Linked DNA regions of Homo sapiens: region 1 is linked to region 2. The links are contacts of gene promoters, found by promoter capture Hi-C in human tissues and cell types (Jung and others, 2019). All regions are on one chromosome and are shown on one strand. The core of a region is centred on a gene start or on the middle of the fragment in contact, and the rest is flanking DNA. Distances in the headings are between cores, read along the strand shown. Region 1 overlaps FSD1L (fibronectin type III and SPRY domain containing 1 like). Region 2 holds the start of ABCA1 (ATP binding cassette subfamily A member 1).

The links. The method cuts DNA at HindIII sites, captures the fragments that hold promoters and counts their contacts. A contact is called where the count stands out against the background at its distance.
Region 1: a contact is called between a fragment that was not itself captured here and the fragment with the promoter of ABCA1 in region 2, in 1 of the 25 tissues and cell types used here (dorsolateral prefrontal cortex).

The regions. Positions count from the first base shown.
Region 1 is chr9:105,532,671-105,536,900 of GRCh38, forward strand. FSD1L (fibronectin type III and SPRY domain containing 1 like) reads left to right here. Exons shown (of 14, transcript NM_001145313.3): 11 at 1,823-1,923; 12 at 2,397-2,648. Among named protein-coding and RNA genes, the nearest start is that of FKTN, 23 kb to the right of the region's middle. The HindIII fragment of the contact is 5,852 bases long and covers 1-4,230 here.
Region 2 is chr9:104,925,259-104,929,712 of GRCh38, forward strand. It overlaps ABCA1 (ATP binding cassette subfamily A member 1), which reads right to left and starts at 2,897. Exons shown (of 50, transcript NM_005502.4): 1 at 2,677-2,897. It overlaps LOC105376196 (a long non-coding RNA gene), which reads left to right and starts at 1,531. Exons shown (of 3, transcript NR_188620.1): 1 at 1,531-2,652; 2 at 4,250-4,454. RefSeq lists silencers at 1,291-1,530, 2,867-3,056 and enhancers at 2,207-2,266, 2,587-2,666. The HindIII fragment of the contact is 15,965 bases long and covers 1-4,454 here.

The DNA of each region.
Region 1 (4,230 bases), core at 1,047-3,546, 610 kb after region 2:
GCTTTGCTCATGCTATCTGTTCAAACAGAACTTATAGTCAGTTTTTAGTTGTCTTTTTAAAGAAACATCTTTACACAAAGGACCTTTGAAATCCCTTGGGAAGAATTAAACTAAGTCATGTGAGTGTTGTAGTTCTAGACTTACACTTTTGCTACTTAATATTATACACTAAAAAGGAGACAGTTGAAGTGGTCCTGAGTTCTTTGAAATTGTCTAATAAGTCTGATTTCTGACAGCAAGACATTTAAATAATGCAGAATGAAGTCACTGAGTCATATGAAATGAATCATATGAAATGACTTTAAGTTTTATCTGTATTCTTGCTTTGCCATCAGGGATTTCTAGTCTAGTATTGGTAGCTTATATTAAAATCTACTCAGTTGATCTTTTCTTAGGAAGAAAATTTCTAGTGCTATGTTAGAAAAAAGTGTTTTTATTTCTAACTAGTGGTGAGAATATAGTTATCCCCATATCCCCCAAATACTTTTAGGATAATCTTGACCAAAAAATCTTTTGTTAAATGCAGTAATTCAATATAATTAAAATGTTTTTGAAAACATCTTTGGGACTGAATCTGTTTTGAGTTTTTGAATGTTAGTAAACATCCCAATACTCCAGTTTTCCATATATCATATAATTTGATATAAGAGGAAGTCAAGGTGGATCTTGTCTATTTGAGTAGGAGAAATGCTTGATAATACTTGATATTATCCTGTGCAAGGATTTGGATAATTGCCATTTCCATCTTTTTTTTTTTTTTTTTTTTTTTTGAGATGGCGTCTAGCCCTGTTGCCCAGGCTGGAGTGCAGTGGCGCCATCTCGGCTCACTACAACCTCTGCTTCCTGGGTTCAGGCAATTCTCCTGCCTCAGCCTCCCGAGTAGCTGGGATTACAGGCACCCACAACCACACCCAGCTAATTTTTGTATTTTTAGTAGAAACGGGGTTTCACTGTGTTGCCCAGGCTGGTCTCGAACTCCAGACTTCGAGATCCGCCTGTCTTGGCCTCTCAAATTGCTGAGATTAGAAGCATGAGCCACCGCGTGCAGCCCCCCCGTCCCTTTTTTTTTAAGACAGAGTTTTGCTCTTGTTGCCTAGGCTGGAGTGCAATGGTGCAATCATGGCTCACCCGCAACCTCTGACTCCTGGGTTCAAGCGATTCTCCTGCCTCAGCCTCCCGAGTAGCTGGGATTACAGGCATGTGCCACCACGCCCTACTAATTTTGTATTTTTAGTAGAGATGGGGTTTCTCCACGTTAGTCAGGCTCGTCTCGAACTCCCGACCTCAGGTGATCCTCCTGCCTTGGCGCCTCCCAAAGTGCTGGGATTACAGGTGTGAGCCACCGTGCCTGGCCGCCATTTCTATTTTTAAGAAGGTAAGATTCAGAGCAAAAATACTCACTGCTTATAAAAAGAGTTATTTAGTCAGGATTATAAGAAGAAACCTATTTTTGCCTTCATTTAACTGCAAAAAAATGTAAGCTGTAACTCATTATCTTTCTTGAGTTCTTTTTTTTCTTTAGTAAATCTTGTCACATTTTAGCATTGTTTCTTATTTCAGCCGTGTATTCTTTGTATAAGCCTTGCTCAGTCTGCATGCCATTAGTGTTTTCAGCCTGCTTTGTATTGATAGCTTCTTACATTTCAGTGTTTATAATTGACAGCGCTCTTTAATTAACTAGTTCAGATCAAATTGAATGGTGTTATTTCTATAACATAATTAGAAATCTTTTCAGAGGTTCCTTCCATGATTTCTAGTTTTAGTTTATGAAACATTTACAGTATAAAATATTTGTTTTTCTTTTTTCTTTTTGTTTATATAGAAGTGGTACACCATCCCCAAAACGAACATCTGTAGGCTCCAGGCCACCAGCAGTAAGAGGCAGTAGAGATCGTTTTACTGGAGAATCATACACAGTGCTGGGTAGGACAAAACATAATTGTTTTTCATTATCTCAGATTAAAGGCATCACAATCACACTGGTGGACTTTCCACTCAAAGTGACTGCCTGTATATTGAATAAATCTTTGCAAGAAATTTCTCCCAATTGAAGCCTAATTACTTTGGGGAGTTTTCAGATTGTCTTATTATTATTGATACTTTTAAAACTCTACTTCAGCTTACGTAGTGTTCCCACATCTTTATATATAAGCCGGGAGGGGGGATAGTAAGGAAGAAAACCTCTGAAGCGTTTTATATTCAAGAATAGTACTAAACGTAAAGGTAAAGTTAGAGCAGGTACTCAGCATTTAATGTCTGTGTGTTAACATGATTATTCTTATAGGAAAAGTACTTGAATAAAAATTTTTGTGTCTTTTTTTGGGACGAGTGGTAGGTAAAACTGTGTGACTCATAAGGAAGAGATGAGTCAAATCTACCTTTCTGATCTTTTGTAGGAGACACTGCTATTGAAAGTGGACAACATTATTGGGAGGTCAAGGCCCAGAAGGATTGTAAATCCTACAGTGTGGGAGTAGCATACAAAACGTTGGGGAAATTTGACCAATTGGGAAAGACAAACACTAGTTGGTGTATCCATGTCAACAACTGGCTACAAAACACATTTGCAGCAAAGCATAATAATAAAGTCAAAGCTTTGGATGTTACTGTTCCTGAAAAAATAGGTGTATTTTGTGATTTTGATGGGGGTAAGTTTATTTTCTCGTAGGTTATTTCATCATAGTTGCTTGCATTTCAGTACCTTTCACTGGTAATCATCTATACAGGATTTCCATTAGTATTGTGGGAAGGACATTTTGATCAGGTAGGCTTTTGATTGCAATCATAATCTCAATTCTAGAATTGACTGGAATGGTATATGTGATGTCTGCCTGGAGCCCTATAAAAGCACTCATTTATAATATACTAAGTCTGAAAGATTTTGCTAATTTTAGTCTTCAGCACTAACATTTCTTCTGTCCATTTTAATTCCTTCCTTACCATGTTTTATTACCTACCTCTAAAGAGTGATAGTCAAAATTTTCTAGTTGAAGTAGATCTTAGAAATTACCCAACCCAGGATGAATACCCCATTTTACATGATGTGATTATTACACATTGCATGCCTATATGAAAGCATCTCATATACTGCGTAAACATACACACCTACTATGTACCTACAAAAATTAAAAAAAAATTCAAGAAGATACCAGAGCCATATTTTCTACTATCCTAGTAAACATAAGCTATACAGCAAATATTTACTGTGCCAAACCGCATCACACTTGAAACGAATGGAATGTTCTTAATTTTCAAGTTGCTGTCTTTAAAAATATTCTTCAGAATGACTCATGATATCTTTAGAGGGGCCAAAGGGGTTTCCCCTCAATATCAGAATTTCTTTACTTACAAAATTATTAACACAGTGTAGTCTAATCCAAAAAAGAAAAGAAATTACTCCATCTGCCACACAGTATACAGTTCTTAGTACACTATCTCTGCAGGTAGTTGCCACTTATGTGCCTGAAGAACTTTTAATGTGAAGTTTACTGTCTTAGAAAGCAGCCTGTTTCATTGTTGGACAGCTCTTGGTTAGAAGATTTTTCTTAAGTTGACTCACATTGTTTCCCTTAAATTTTCCCATCTGAATAAACACAGAATTACGTTTCCTCACTCATGTTCACACGATAATCCTTTATTAAAAACTTTCTTGCCCTGTTTTTCCAGACCATATATTCTGTTATTAGCTGCCCCTGTTAAAATTTAATTTTTCCAAGTCTTTATAATCTCCTATGGCTGTCTAGTATGTCAGTGTTTTTCTTAAAGGTTGGTCTTAGAGTGGAACACATGACCTCTGACCAGCAAAGGACAGTAATTTGGCTATGCTATTTCTAATAGTATGACTTAGCACTGCTGATCAATATTGAGCTTGTAGCTACCCTAATCCATTAGATCTTTTTTCACGGCATTATGTCAAATTGTCTTTTTCTTTTGTTAGGCAGTTTATGGTTTTGGTTTTTTTTGTTTTGTTTTGTTTTGTTTTTGAGACAGAGTCTTACTCTGTTGTCCAGGCTGGAGTGCAGTGGCTCAGTCTCAGCTCACTGCAACCTCTGCCTCCCATGTTCAAGCGACTCTCCTGCCTCAGCCTCCTGAGTTAGCTGGGATTACAGGTGCATGCCACCACGCCTGGCTAATTTTTGTATTTTTAGTAGAGACGGGGTTTCACCATGCTGGCCAGGCTGGTCTCAAACTCCTGACCTCAAGTGATCCACCTGGCTGGGCCTCCCAAAG
Region 2 (4,454 bases), core at 1,647-4,146:
CCCAGCTACTCAGGAGGCTGAGGCAGGAGAATCTCTTGAACCCAGGAGGTGGAGGTTGCAGTGAGCCATATCGTGCCACTGCACTCCAGCCTGGGAAACAGAGCGAGACTGCATCTCAAAAAAAAAAAAAATGTGCCCAGGGTCCATTATAGGCCTGCACTCGTAGAAATACGAGGGTTGAGATTTCAAATGCTCATCTGCAGGGGAGACAACATATCACACGTGTCCAGGTTACAGTCAGATATGTCATTCTGGAACACTATGCGGGTGCTCAAATACAGACTCCTAAATTGCTCTGACAACAGTAGCAATTCTAGTCCCTTAAATGGCTTGTAGTCATCGTGAAGGCTGAAGACCCACTTCCCCGGTCCTTCTGATTGTAAACCAATGTTTTCCTAAAATTCCCTAGCATTAATTATTTTAATGGTTTGTGGAATTATTTAATGGTTTGTGGAAGCACTTGGGAAACAGGCTGACAATGGAAACTTTGTATTTGAAAAATATTGTAATATCTGTAGAGGTTCTACTCAGGAATACTTTCCATGCTTCCATACTTTCTCTGATTTAGGAGAAAGTTTCTCAAGAGAATGATACTCTCAACAGAAACGGAAAGTTTCTCAACAGAAAGCCTCCATTATTTTTGTGGTAGGTATGAGAAGAATAGGTTGAAATAAAAGGGGAGATGAAAACTTAAGGACTTTAAGTTTTGTTTGAAAAGAAGATCATAATTTAAGTCTGGGTTCTAAACTACGGCCGTTAAAAAAAAAAGAAAAAAAAATCAAGAAAATTCCACTCTTTAACTTGGGGGAAATTTTTGTGAGGTTCTCTTCGTGGGAAGCAGGGATTCGGCCATGGAGGGCAAGTGACTTGCTGATTTCAGTACCCAGAAGGTTTTTTTAAATATGAAATTTGTCCACTATGAGATGAATGTGTATATACTACCCATTCTCTTCTTGAAGTGTCAATGAAAAGTCGGATTTTAAAAGCTAATGGTATCAGTGCTGCAAAGGCAGGCCAATTACTGCCAGTGCCAGACAACTTTTTTCTTTGTTTATTTTTAATCTTATTTCTTTGCTTCTTTTTGATAAAAGATATACCTAAAGAGGCACCTACACATAACCCTGGCACCGTCCGCCGCCCCAAGAACCTTCCTGCTTTACCAATGGCCTGGGAGTTGGCAAACACGCTAACAAAAAAAAAAACCAAAAAAACAAAAAAAAAAAAACAAAACGGGCTTTCGCCTCAACCTCATAGTTCCTCCCCGTCTGCAACCACCGGTCTTCACCGGATTCACAGTCGGAACCGCGAGCAAAGACACCTAGTAGAGCCGGCCGATTCCTAGGTCCTCCGGCCAGGAGGCGCTGCGGGCCAGTCTCCGGGGGCCACCGCAGCCCGCGCGCCCAGCACCCCCACCCTCACGGCAGAGCCCAGCCCAGCCCCGCGGCGGAGCTCCGAGTTCTGCGCCGCCCGCCGGGGTTACTCCCGGTCATTCCACGGCACCACCTCGGCCCAGCTTCCCCATCTGCGCCCAGGCAGAAGCTGCCCCGAGAGACCAGCAGCAACGGTCTGGAAGATGGGGCTGCAGGGAACGTGGGAGAGGGAGGATTGGGCACCCCACCTCCGGGTCTCCGCAGGCTCTCCTAAGTCTTGTTTTTAAAAGAAACAAAACTCGGCCGCGCGCGGTGGCTCACGCCTATAATCCCAGCACTTGGGGAGGCCGAGGCCGGTGGATCACCTGAGGTCGAGGGTTCGAGACCAGCCTGGCCAACAAGTTGAAACCCCGTCTCTACTAAAAATACAAAAATTAGCTGGATGTGGTGACGCGCCTGTAATCCCAGCTACTCAGGAGGCTGAGGCAGGAGAATCGCTTGAACCCGGGAGGCGGAGGTTGCAGTGAGCGGAGATCGTTCCATTGCACTCCAGCCTGGGCGACAGACCGAGACTTAAAGGAAAGAAAAAAAAGAAAAAGAAAAGGAAACAAAACTCGTCCGCGCTCTGCGCCAGGGACACCAGCTCAGCTGAGCGCACGGAGACTGTAGGCAGGACCTCCCTACCCCTCAGGTCAAACAAAGACCCAAGGCCTCTAGTGAGCAATAGCACCACGGACCGTTTGGGACACCTCCAACTCGAGTTCCCGGATTCACAGTCCGGGACTGTGCCGCTCCAGTCCCGGGGAGCATATAGCCAATTCCCAGGTCAGAACAGACCAGCTTCTTAAGAACCGAGTGAAGACTCAGTGCTGGCATTTGTCTCCGTAGGTACTGGCCGACCTGCAACCAGAAGGGTTTCTAGCCAGCTCAGGGCCCTCCGAACAAAGCAGCGCTCGGTGCCGGACCTGCAGCTCTCCCCACCCGGCAGCAGCGCCCTCAGCACGCCCGGGAACCCCCGACCCCTCTGAGCCCGGGGTACTGCGCCCGGGTCTCCACGCCCAGAGATGCTCCCCGGTCTCCACCGTCGGGCAAGCCCCAAGCGCAGCAGCGCAGAGTCCTGGGGTCACCAGAGCTCGTACTAGGACATCGTCTCCCCATTTAACACCGCCTCCGGTCCCATCTGAGTTGCAAGTGGTGGGGATGTGGGGCTCCGGATCAAAGTCCCCGAAACCGAGCACTTCCCGAAGCCTCCTTGGCCTCGAAACAAAACAATAACGCCCAAGTAAGTCACTGGAGAGCCTCTTACCTGTTTTCCACTTTTGTGTTTGCGTCTCTTTCTCCTACCCCTTGACAAGCCTTCCGGAGAAGGGGAGAAAACAGAACCGGGGAAAAAACAAGGAGCAAAGCGCCCTGAGAACCGGCTCTGTTGGTGCGCGGAGCTCCCCGCCCTGCCCTGCCGCAGCCCGGGAGAGAAGGGTCGGCTCGGCTCTGCGGGTCCCGGCCCCACTCACTCTCGCTCGCAATTACGGGGTTTTTGCCGGGACTAGTTCCTTTTATAGATTCGGCTGCACCGAGCGCAGAGGTTACTATCGGTCAAAGCCTGTGCTCTCCCTCCTCCCCGCCCCGTTCCCGGCCTCTGTTTATGTAGTTCAGTCACTCAGCAGAAAGCACGTGGAGCCGGGGCCCGCCCCTTAAACGGGCGACGTTCAGCCGCCCACGACACATCTAGGGAGTTGGGGGGAGGTGGGTGGGGTGGGGGTGGAGGGTACAGCAGGTGTCTTAGGGTCCGCGGTCTGCGTCCCCTTCCCCCGCCCGGGCCCGCCGGCCTAAGACGCGCGGGAAGCGCTGGGCTCGGGGCTGCGCCGCAGACTCTCTAGTCCACGTTCCCGGCAGCCAAGGGCACCAGTGGAATTTGCTTCCTCTAAATCCTGCTTTCCGCAATTTTTTTTTCCTTTGTTAGTTTCCTCAGCCGGAGGGAGGGATTGGGGGAGAGAGAGCTCTAGGCTGAATCTCCCTCAGGACGCCAATCATTTTGTCTTGTCTTTTGTTTCCTTTCAAAGGCCTAGGCTGGGGTGAGGGGAAGGCGGACAGTCCTCTGGGTAATGGGCTGCTTTTGTTTTCCCCCCACAAACCTGGACTTTGATTTTTGATAGGCGACCTACTGCCTTGGAGATTCCCAGCCTGAGCTCCCCAGGTCCCTCAGAGGACCCGAGAGGAACATCTTACTGCTTCTCTTCATAAATTGAGAGGAAGGAGGCCACAAAAACAAAAAAAGAAACAAACAAACAAAAACACAGAACAATATGGACCAGCCCCCTTTTAATTTCATTATATTGATCAGCCTCCCTGTGATAAAAACACAGGACTTGTATTTAGTTTGTATACATTTGTGAAGTGCAGCCAGAGAATTGCAGTCGTGTAAAATTATGTAGCCACTCCAGACCTCCAACTTATCTGTTTGCCTTTGGCTGTAGGGGAGCAAAACTACCCAAAACACTGGAGGGGCAAAAAAAAAGGCAAGAGTAGGAATGCAGGCCTACACACCATATGTCTAAATATTTAAGTCATCCATCAAGCCAACAAACTAAATGTCACCTTATTCTGGCCAAAACTCAGGTCAAACTGTGAAGAGTCTAAATATGAATCTGCCCTGAAGGGCAGATTCATAGAAGACTCAGGACAGACCCGTAGAAGAGGCCCAAGCAGGCCCTGGAAGTGCACGTGGAGGCCACAAGGTCTCCTACCTTGACAAAGATACCTTTGTAGCCACCTTGAAGGGCAGATTCACATTTAGACTCTTCACAGTTTGACCTGAGTTTTGGCCAGAATGAGGTGGCATGAGAGAGCTGCCCCAAGCCTACTTCTCTTCCCACCTCCAGCTCCATCATATTCCAGAACTCCCACCACCTGCATACAGACATTCAGCTGCACAAGCCCCCTCCATGCTACAGTCAACAGGATCTCCAGGCCACGGCTCAAGCCCAGGTACTCACATCAGTGGTTCTATCAACACTCAGGACAGACCCATAGAAGAGGCCCAAGCAGGCCCTGGAAGTGCATGTGGAGGCCACCAGGCAAGGAATT